Regions from separate parts of the Homo sapiens genome. Here region 1 is linked to region 2. The links are contacts of gene promoters, found by promoter capture Hi-C in human tissues and cell types (Jung and others, 2019). All regions are on one chromosome and are shown on one strand. The core of a region is centred on a gene start or on the middle of the fragment in contact, and the rest is flanking DNA. Distances in the headings are between cores, read along the strand shown. Region 1 overlaps HNRNPA0 (heterogeneous nuclear ribonucleoprotein A0). Region 2 holds the start of CDC23 (cell division cycle 23).

What was found. The method cuts DNA at HindIII sites, captures the fragments that hold promoters and counts their contacts. A contact is called where the count stands out against the background at its distance.
Region 1: a fragment that was not itself captured here is called in contact with the fragment with the promoter of CDC23 in region 2 in 1 of the 25 tissues and cell types used here (dorsolateral prefrontal cortex).

What each region holds. Positions count from the first base shown.
Region 1 is chr5:137,741,554-137,746,052 of GRCh38, forward strand. HNRNPA0 (heterogeneous nuclear ribonucleoprotein A0) reads right to left here. Exons shown (of 1, transcript NM_006805.4): 1 at 4,098-4,499. Among named protein-coding and RNA genes, the nearest start is that of KLHL3, 7.7 kb to the left of the region's middle. The HindIII fragment of the contact is 5,717 bases long and covers 1-4,499 here.
Region 2 is chr5:138,210,798-138,215,578 of GRCh38, forward strand. CDC23 (cell division cycle 23) reads right to left here and starts at 2,526. Exons shown (of 16, transcript NM_004661.4): 1 at 2,355-2,526; 2 at 2,194-2,266. The coding sequence starts at 2,515. RefSeq lists an enhancer at 2,543-2,837. The HindIII fragment of the contact is 12,003 bases long and covers 1-4,781 here.

The DNA.
Region 1 (4,499 bases), core at 1,003-3,502, 470 kb before region 2:
AAAAACACTACAGGGTCCGGCTCTTCCTCACACCCATAGAATCAGGGCCTGAGGAACAGGAATTTTTTTAATTTTTTTCCTTTAGTTTTAGAGACGGGGTCTCTCTATGTTGCCCAGGCTGGTCTCGAACTCCTTGGGCTCAAGCAGTGCTCCCGCCTCAGCCTCCCAAAACGCTGGGATGGACAGGTGTGAGCTATCGCACCCACTAGGAACGGGAATTTTAATGAACTTCGTAGGTGACTCTAATGCACAGCTAGATGCAAACATCACCTGAACAATGAAAAGAGCCCAGACCATTAAAATCAGACAGGGCAAGGTCCAAATGTACTTACCAGAAACATGACCCTAGGCAAGTTACAAGCTTCGATTTTTCTCATTCGAAAAAAGGTGAGAACAATAGTACCTACTTCACAGCATTGTTAGGTTAGAATGTAAAGCACTTAGCTGAGAGCCTGGCCTATAATAAGCACTCAGCAACCATTAGTAGCTATGATTTTCATTGTCTGTGCCAATGCTACCGAACCTGAGCACTCGGTCCTAGGTTCAAGAAGAAAATTAACCAGGGTAGGGCCTCTCCTGGAGCTATTTTCACATCTCCACTGGTTACTATTACCAACAGGTCAGCAAGGAGTAGACAAGACCAAAGCTAAATTAAGGTCCACCCACACCTGTATCACCAAAATGCCCTCTCATATTCAGGAGCACTTGCCAAGTGCCCTCAGACAGCCAGGCAGAAACTGAAAAGGAACTTGAGACCCCAAAAAGTCAAAAGAGAAACAAAACAGCACCTTATCCAGAGGAATAAGGACTCTTCCTCTGAAGGTAAAAGAATTCACGCCAAGTAGATTCCAGAGTATAATCACTCATGCCATTTGTGTTGCATTTTTAAGCTTACAAAGTGCTTCATATCCATCATCTCCTTTGACTTAAGACAACATCCCCTGAATGGTAATAATAGCTCCCATTCCTTGAATATTTACTCTGGGCCAGACCCTGTATTCCACACTTCACATGTACCCTTGTCATTTAATTCTCACAACCCTGTAGGACTATTATTTCTCTTTTAAACATGAGAGAATCGAGGTTCTGAGAGTTAAATAACTTGAACCAAGGCCCCACAGTTAGTAAATGGCAAAGCTGGAATTTGAACCCAGGTCTGCCTGACCTAAGAGACCACTATTAGCTATACACAGAATGTACTACCCCTATCTTACTGTCTCCATTTTAGAGATAAGCTAATTGAGACAGAGAGAAAAGGTAACTGGCTCAAAACTACTTAGAGAGCCAACCTCAGTGCAGAACCAGACCCTCAGATGCCTGGCCTAATGCCTTTTTCACCTTACCTCTGGATGAGGAAAAACAGCTTTGAACCCCTAAAGATATTACATACAAGCTGGCATCCAAGGCTTCCAAACAGCTACTATAATAAAGTCCTTCCACCTGGATTCATCTGGGCACCTAGCTTATTAACCAGGACTAGCCAAAGAATGCTCTTGGGGAAAGCTGGAAGAGTACCACTGGAACCCAAGGGAATTAAAAAAAAAAAAAAAAAAAAGGCGGGTGGGTGGGGGGCAGACCAACTAAAGCAACAAGCAGAGTGCTTCACACAGACCAGCACACTGGTCTCTGAGTCTTCCCATGAATCTGCAACCTACAACTGGTGCCCTCTGCTGGCAAAAGTATACATCTCTTCATAACAAAAGTAAAACCTAATTACTACAACTGGGGCTTAAGAAGGAAAAAAATATATGCTTCCTTCACAGACATTCTATTCAGGAATGAACATTATTTCTTACTTACAACTTTCCAATAGGCATATGCAACTTTAAATTGACTGCAATGATCCTCTCCTCTATCTGCTGCCCCTGCCTCACGCCTGCAGTTCTTTCCTTTCGGGATCCAAAGAAAATTGGGCTGTTTTACATAAAAAGGTAAAATATAAATGAATGATGCAAAGCCCTAAAGTCAAGAATACAGTGATGTGTATGTGGGTGAGATCAGGTCTGCACATCTAGCAAGTACAGAGAATTGAGGCAGGCACACACTTGAAGTGATATAAAACCCATGGGCACGTATGCTCAAACATTTTGGTAAATCTCTACCTTCGTAAAATAGCATGCTTATGATTCAGTCAACTAAGTCTCACTGAATATCTACTATGCAGGCTGTACCAGAGACTGACAACATAAATCCTATATTAATATAATTCCAAAGAGCACACAAGCTGTTTGAGAAAATTAGACATAGGCATATACAATGGTAAAAAGTATGAGAGTCAAGTACAGAAAGGGTATCATGGAAACTTGGTGGGAGAAGAGGCAACTTCCAGTTGGGGAGAGGGTGGATGACATGAGAATAGAAATAAATTGAGAACTTAATAATTCTATGGAGTTTTTAAAAGGTATTCATAATTGTAAATATTTGCAAATAGGTAATTTCAACGTCCCATGATTTCATTTAAAAAATTTTTTTGGCCGGGCATGGTGGCTCACACCTGTAATCCCAGCACTTTGGGAGGACAAGGAGAGAGGACCGCTTGAGCACAGTAGTTTTGAGACCAGCCTGGGGAACATGGTAAGACCTCATCTCTACAAAAAAAATTTTAAAACTTAACCAGGCATAGTGGTGTGCACCTGTAGTCCTAGCTACTTGGAAGGCATGGGCAGAGGGATCACCTGAGCCCAGGAGTTTGAGGCTGCAGTGAGCCATGATTGCACCACCACTGTGCTACAGCCTGGGCAACAGGGCAAGCCCTTGTCTTTAAAAAAATATTTAAAAGATACAATTTTTTCATCCCACTACTTTAATATACTTACATATTTATTATGTTAAATAATATATTTTTTCATTACAATTTCTATTGTGGTAAAATATACATTAAATTTGCCATTTTAGGCCAGGTGTGGTGGCTCACACTTGTAATCCCAGGATTTTGGTAGGCTGAGGTGGGAGGATCACTTGAGCCCAGGAGTTCAATACTAGCCTGGGCAATATAGCAAGACTCCATCTCTACAAAAAGATTTTTTAAATTAGCTAGCTGTGGTGGCGCGTGCCTGTAGTCAGTTCTAGCTACGGGGGAGGCTGAGGTGGGAGGATCACTTGAGCCCACAGTTCGAAGCTCCAGTGAGCTATGATCATGCCACTGCACTCCAGCCTGGGCACCAGAGTAAGACCCGGCCTCCAAAAAAAAGAAAAAAAGCCATTTTAACCATTTTTAAATATACGATTCATCAGCATTAAGTACATTCATAATGTTGTATAACAATCACCACTATCCATTTTCAGAACTTTCTCAACATCTGAAAAGAAATTCTGTATCCCTTAAACAGTAATTTCCCATTTCTATCTCTCTGAATTTGCCTACTCTGGGTACCTCATTTAAGTGCAATCATAGTATGTCCTTTTGTGCAGGCTTATTTCACTTGGCATGTTTTCATTCATCTTGTAGCATATACCAGAAATTTATTCTTTCTTATGGCTGAATATTCCATTGTATGTATATACCACATCTTGTTAATTCATTCACCTGATAACACTGAGTTAATATTTCACCTTTTGACAGACCACAGTTAACATTTCCCTAATATTTGACATTTAGTTTCCAATTTTTTGCTACGTCATAATTTTTATGCAAAGACTGTTTTCCTTTCAATAAATTTTTCAATAAACTGTTCTGTTAAGGTTAAATTCCTAGTAATGGTGTCCCAGAGCATATGAATACTTTAATAGTTCTTAATAAATAAATCCATAATTTTACTCTCCTCATTTGCCATTTTTCATAACCTGATGGACAAATTCCGGTCAGCAGTTTGTTACAAATGTATAAAGTGTGACAAAACCAAATGGAGGGAAGCTTTTGGAGAAAGAAAAGGAATTAACAAAGCAGAAACAGCTCAGAAGAGCTCTCCACTAGACAGAGCTGGCTGACTTCTGTGACAGGTTGCCCAACTGCTCCTTCTATCCATAACCTGATGTTTTCCAATTAACTTGGTGACTCTTTGAAAAAAAAAAAAAAAATCTGCCTGTGTCAGGGATCCCCCGGACCAAGCCCATATTGAGATTTGATAGAAGGGTTCACAAAACTCAGCACTGCTAAGTATCGTACTCATGGCTAAAGTTTATTACAGTGACACAGTAAGTGTACACAGTTGGATCATACAGGAAAAAGACATAAGCAGAATCTGGAGGAATCCATGTGCAGGCTTCTTTAGGATCTCTCCCTCCCATGAAGATTCACACAGAGCACATTTTTATACGAGGGATGTTTCTGCCTAGGGACTCAGTATGCAAGGTTTTCATTGGGAGTTTGGTCATATAGACATCCTTTACCTGGCATGTACCAAAATTCCATACTCCCAGAAGGAAAGCAGGTGTTTAGCATAAATCATCTTGTTTGAACAGTCTAGGTACAGTGAACCACCTTTATTAGTGAACAGTGAGAATACCCCTAAATCCACGTGTTCAGATAAGGGCCAACCATGCAAGTAGGCCACTCTAAA
Region 2 (4,781 bases), core at 1,276-3,775:
AATACAAACCCTCAGGAGAGGGTGATATTTACTGAGGCTCTACTTCTCAATAAATATGCTTTATTTACTCATTCAATAGTTATTTATCCTATTTAGGGAACACTTATACACTGTTGATGGAACTGTTAAGTTAGTTCAGCCTCTGAACTAACAGAGTTCACAGATTTTTCAAAGAACTAAAAACAGAATTACCATTTGACTCAGCAATCCCATTACTGGGTATATACCCAAAGGAAAATAAATTATTCTACCAAAAAAACATCTGCACTCGCATGTTTACCACAGCACTATTCACAATGGCAAAGACATGGAATCAATCTAGGTGCCCATCAATGGTGCACTAAAGAAAATGTGGTACATATACACCATGGAATACGACACAGCCATAAAAAAGAACAAAATCATGTCCTTTGCAGTAACATGGATGCAGCTAGAGGCCATTATCCAAAGTGAATTAACACAGAAATAGAAACCCAAATACAGCATGTTCTCACTTACAAGTGGAAGCTGATCACTGGGTACACACGGACTTAAAGATGGGAACAACAGACACCAGGGACTCCAAGAGTGGGGAAGGAGGAAAGCAAAGGGTGAAAACTATCTGGCCAGGTCCCAGCACTTTGAGAGGCCAAGGTAGGTGGATCACCTGAAGTCAGGAGTTCCAGACCAGCCTGGTAAACAGGGTGAAACCCTGTCCCTACTAAAAATACAAAAAGTTACCCAGGCGTGGTGACGGGTGCCTGTAATCCGAGCTACTCGGGAGGTTGAGGCAGGAGAATTGCTTGAACCCGGGAGGCAGAGGTTGCAGTGAGCCATCATGCCATTGCACTCCAGCCTGGGCAACAAGAGCAAGACTCCGTCTCAAAAAAAAAAAAAAGTAAAATAAAATAAAACTGTCTATCAGGTATTATGTTCACTATTTGGATGATGGGTTCAACTGAAGCCCAACCTCAGAATCACACAATATATCCATGTAGCAAATCTGCACAAGTAACCCCTGAATCTAAAATTTAAACAACAAAAACAATTATTTATCCTATTCAGGACCAACGATGGGCCTAGGCATTATGAAAGTGGGCACAAGAGTAAAAGCTAATGAGACAAATATAAACTGCATTGACTCAAAAAATTTACCTAAGAGTATACCGTATGCTTTACCCTTATTGCTTTATTTAATCTTCTTGAAAATGCAGCAATTATTAACATTATCTATAGATGAGAAGGCTGTCACTTAGAAATCATTTGCCCACATTGGTGCTGCTAATAAAGAACTTGACCGAAATATAGATGCAAGCACCAGGCACACTTCTAAGCGGTCTATATTATTATCTCATTGACTTCTCTCAATATCCCCATTGAGTAGATACTATTACTATCGTCACTGCACAGATGAGGAAACTGGCTCAGAAGGTTAAGTTGCCAAAGGTCATTTGAACCCAGAGTCGTCTCAATCCAGCACCCAAACTTAACCATTATTTGCTATGCTGATCAGACAACAGTGTAGGTATTGTAAAAACTTTATTTATTTATTATTTATTTTGAGACAGTGTCCCGCTCTGCCCTCGGGCTGGAGTGCAATGGCGCGATCTCAGCTCACTGCAACCTTCGCCTCCCGGGTTTAAGCGATTCTCCTGTCTCAGCCTCCCGAGTAACTGGGATTACAGGCGCGCGCCACCATGTCCGGCTAATTTTGTATTTTTACTAGAGACGGGGTTTCACCGTGTTGGCCAAGCTGGTCTCGAACTCCTAACCTCGTGATCCGCCCACCTCGGCCTCCTAAAGTGTTGGGATTACAGGCGTGAGCCACCGCGCCAGACCAAAACTTTTGATTCTTCTCATCCTTTTGGGTATTTATTATGAGATATCCTTATAATAATTCCTTATAATAATATTTACTATTATGAGGCACTCTTATGTCTAGGTTTGGCTATAAGCCCTAAAAGGCTGAAATCATAAGCAGTAATTGTTTACTAATTCTCCCCAGCTTTAAATAAGAGCACCACCAAGTCTTTCAAAGCTCAAGAAAACTAAATGGATAAAATCATTTAAAACACTCAGCTCTTTGAATGCCTGAATTCCCTCTACAAACATTTCTGCTAAGCAGTTTGCTCTCCTCCAGTGACAGGGCACTCAGTGGCTCTTGAGGCACACCCCTGGGTTGATGGGGAGCGCTCACTGTAAACATGTCCTTACCTCTGTAATAGGCGGAGGCGGTTGCAGCTCGGCCAGAGGCAATGCAGGGAGAGAGAAAGCCAACTCCGCCGACCTGGAACACCCACACAAACTAGATCAGCTCGACAAGCCCCCCAAGGCCAAGGATCCAAGCCCCGTCCCTTCCCACTCCAACATCTCACCATTTGCTACTGTGTAGTAGGCCCCGCTCCCGGGTAAGGCCCGCAATAAGCAGCAGTTGCTTTTTAATTTCCCGCAAATCTGAGAAATCGCTGTTTATGGACAGGACAGGCGCCACTGCCGCCGTCACAGCCACCGGGACCATGGAGGTACTCGCAGCCATTTTCCCGACTCGGGCCACTCCAGCCAATCATCGGCGATAATACTGGCTGCCCATCTGCACCAAAAATATCTGCCTGTCATTGGCCGGCTCTTGCTCCGGAAAAACCAATCATAGGTCTTATTTCTGAAACGTCACGAAGAGGCGGGGGAAAAGAAACAACTACATCCCCAAATGGCCAAGAGCTACTGAGGCGGGAAAATTAGAAAATAGGCGGGGCGAGGGAGAAGCCACGACCTCTGGGCGGGGCGGGGAAGAGGGGAATGAGTGACTGGGAAAAGTAAACTGGGAAGCTAGGGGTGGGAGTAGGGGCAAGAAAGGGTGGAGAAGGGAGAGTGCCTTTCACGGGTGATGTGATTGGATGAAAAATAGAAAGGGTGTAGTTTCAGGGCCGACTCTGTACCAGATAATGACAAAGTGATGTATATGCTAGGAAAGATGCATGGTAGCCTCTGGATTCTTCCTTAAAATAGGAGGATGTATCGCCCCATGTGGAGGATTTTTCCTCTTTGTCTACCCTTTCTTACCCCGGGTAGCCCGGGGAGGTGGGGGTGAGAGCATTGTTCTGTAACATTTATTTAACAATAATTGTTAACATTTCACATTTATTGAGGGTTTATCCTACAACAGGTTCTGCTCTTTTACAACTATAATCTGGTTTAATCCTAAAAACAGCACTATGATATTCGTATCATCCCAATTTTATAGAAAGAAAAACGGAAGCTCGGCCAGGCGCGGTGGCTCAAGCCTGTAATCCAACACTGTGGGAGGCCGAGGCGGGCGGATCACGAGGTCAGGAGATCGAGACCATCCTGGCCAACACGGTGAAACCCCGTCTCTACTAAAAATACATAAAAATTAGCCGGGCGTGGTGGCACGTGTCTGTAGTCCCAGCTACTCGGCAGGCTGAGGCAGGAGAATCGCTTGAACCTGGGAGGCGGAGGTTGCAATGAGCCGAGATCGTGCCATTGCACTCCAGCCTGGGCGACAGAGCGAGACTCCGTCAAAAAAAAAAAAAAAAAAAAACAAAACCAGAAAAGAAAAAAAAGAAAAAACGGAAGCTCAGAGAAGTTCTATCACTCTTCCAAGGAGAGAGTCTAGACTATAAACCAGATTTTACTCCAAAGCCCAATGTTCTTAAACATTACATGAACATTTTCGGCGTTTTTTGGTTTTTATCCTTTCATAGTAGTATACTATCTTACCAACCCCTCGGGAATTTTTTTTGAAACCATTTTGTCATTCACTGGGTGTTATATAGAAGTTATCTATTTTTAAATTGTTATTTTATTATTTTATTTATTTTAAGAAAGGGTCTCGGCCGGGCGCGGTGGCTCACGCCGGTAATCCCAGCACTTTGCGAGGCGAAGGCGGGCGGATCACGAGGTCAGGAGATCAAGACCATCTTGGCTAACACGGTGAAACCCCTGTCTCTACTAAAAATACAAAAAAAAAAAAAATTAGCCGGGCGTGGTGGCAGGCACCTGTAGTCCCAGCTACTCTGGAAGCTGAGACAGAATGGCGTGAACCTGGGAGGCGGAGCTTGCAGTGAGCAGAGATCGCGCCACTGCACTCCAGCCTGGGCGACAGAACGAGACTCTGTCTCAAAAAAAAAAAAAAGAAAGAAGGTCTCGTTCTGTCATCCAGGCTGGAGTGGCCGCGGCCCGATCAAGGCTCACTGCATCCTCAAACTCCTGGGCTCCAGTGATCCTGCCGCCTCAGCCTCCCAAGTAGCTGGGACCACAGGTGTGTGTCACGACACCCAGCTAATTTTTTTTTTTTTTGTAATTTTCGTAGGGACAGAATCTCCCTATGTTGCCCAGGCTGGTCTCAAACTCCTGGGCTTAAATGATCCTCTCGCCTTGCCCTCCCAAAGTTCTGGGATTACAAGCATAAGCCACCATGCCCAGCCCATTTTACCCTTTAAAAAAATCAATTTGCGGGCCTATATTCCCAGTGCTTTGGGAGGCTGAGGCGGGAAGATCATTTGAGCCCAGCTGTTGAAGACCAGCCTGGGCAACATACCAAGACCTCCCTATCACTACTACTATAAAAATTAAAAATTAAAAAAATATATATCCAGGCATGGTGGTGCATGCCTGTCATCCCAGCTACTCGGGAGGCTGAGGTGGGAGGATCACTTGAGTCCAGGAGTTTGAGGTTGCAGTGAGCTATGATTGCACCACTGCACTCTCCAGCCTGGATGCAGAGACCCTATCTCAAAAAAAAAAAAAGAAGTAATGTCAATGGCAAAAACTTGAAGAATACA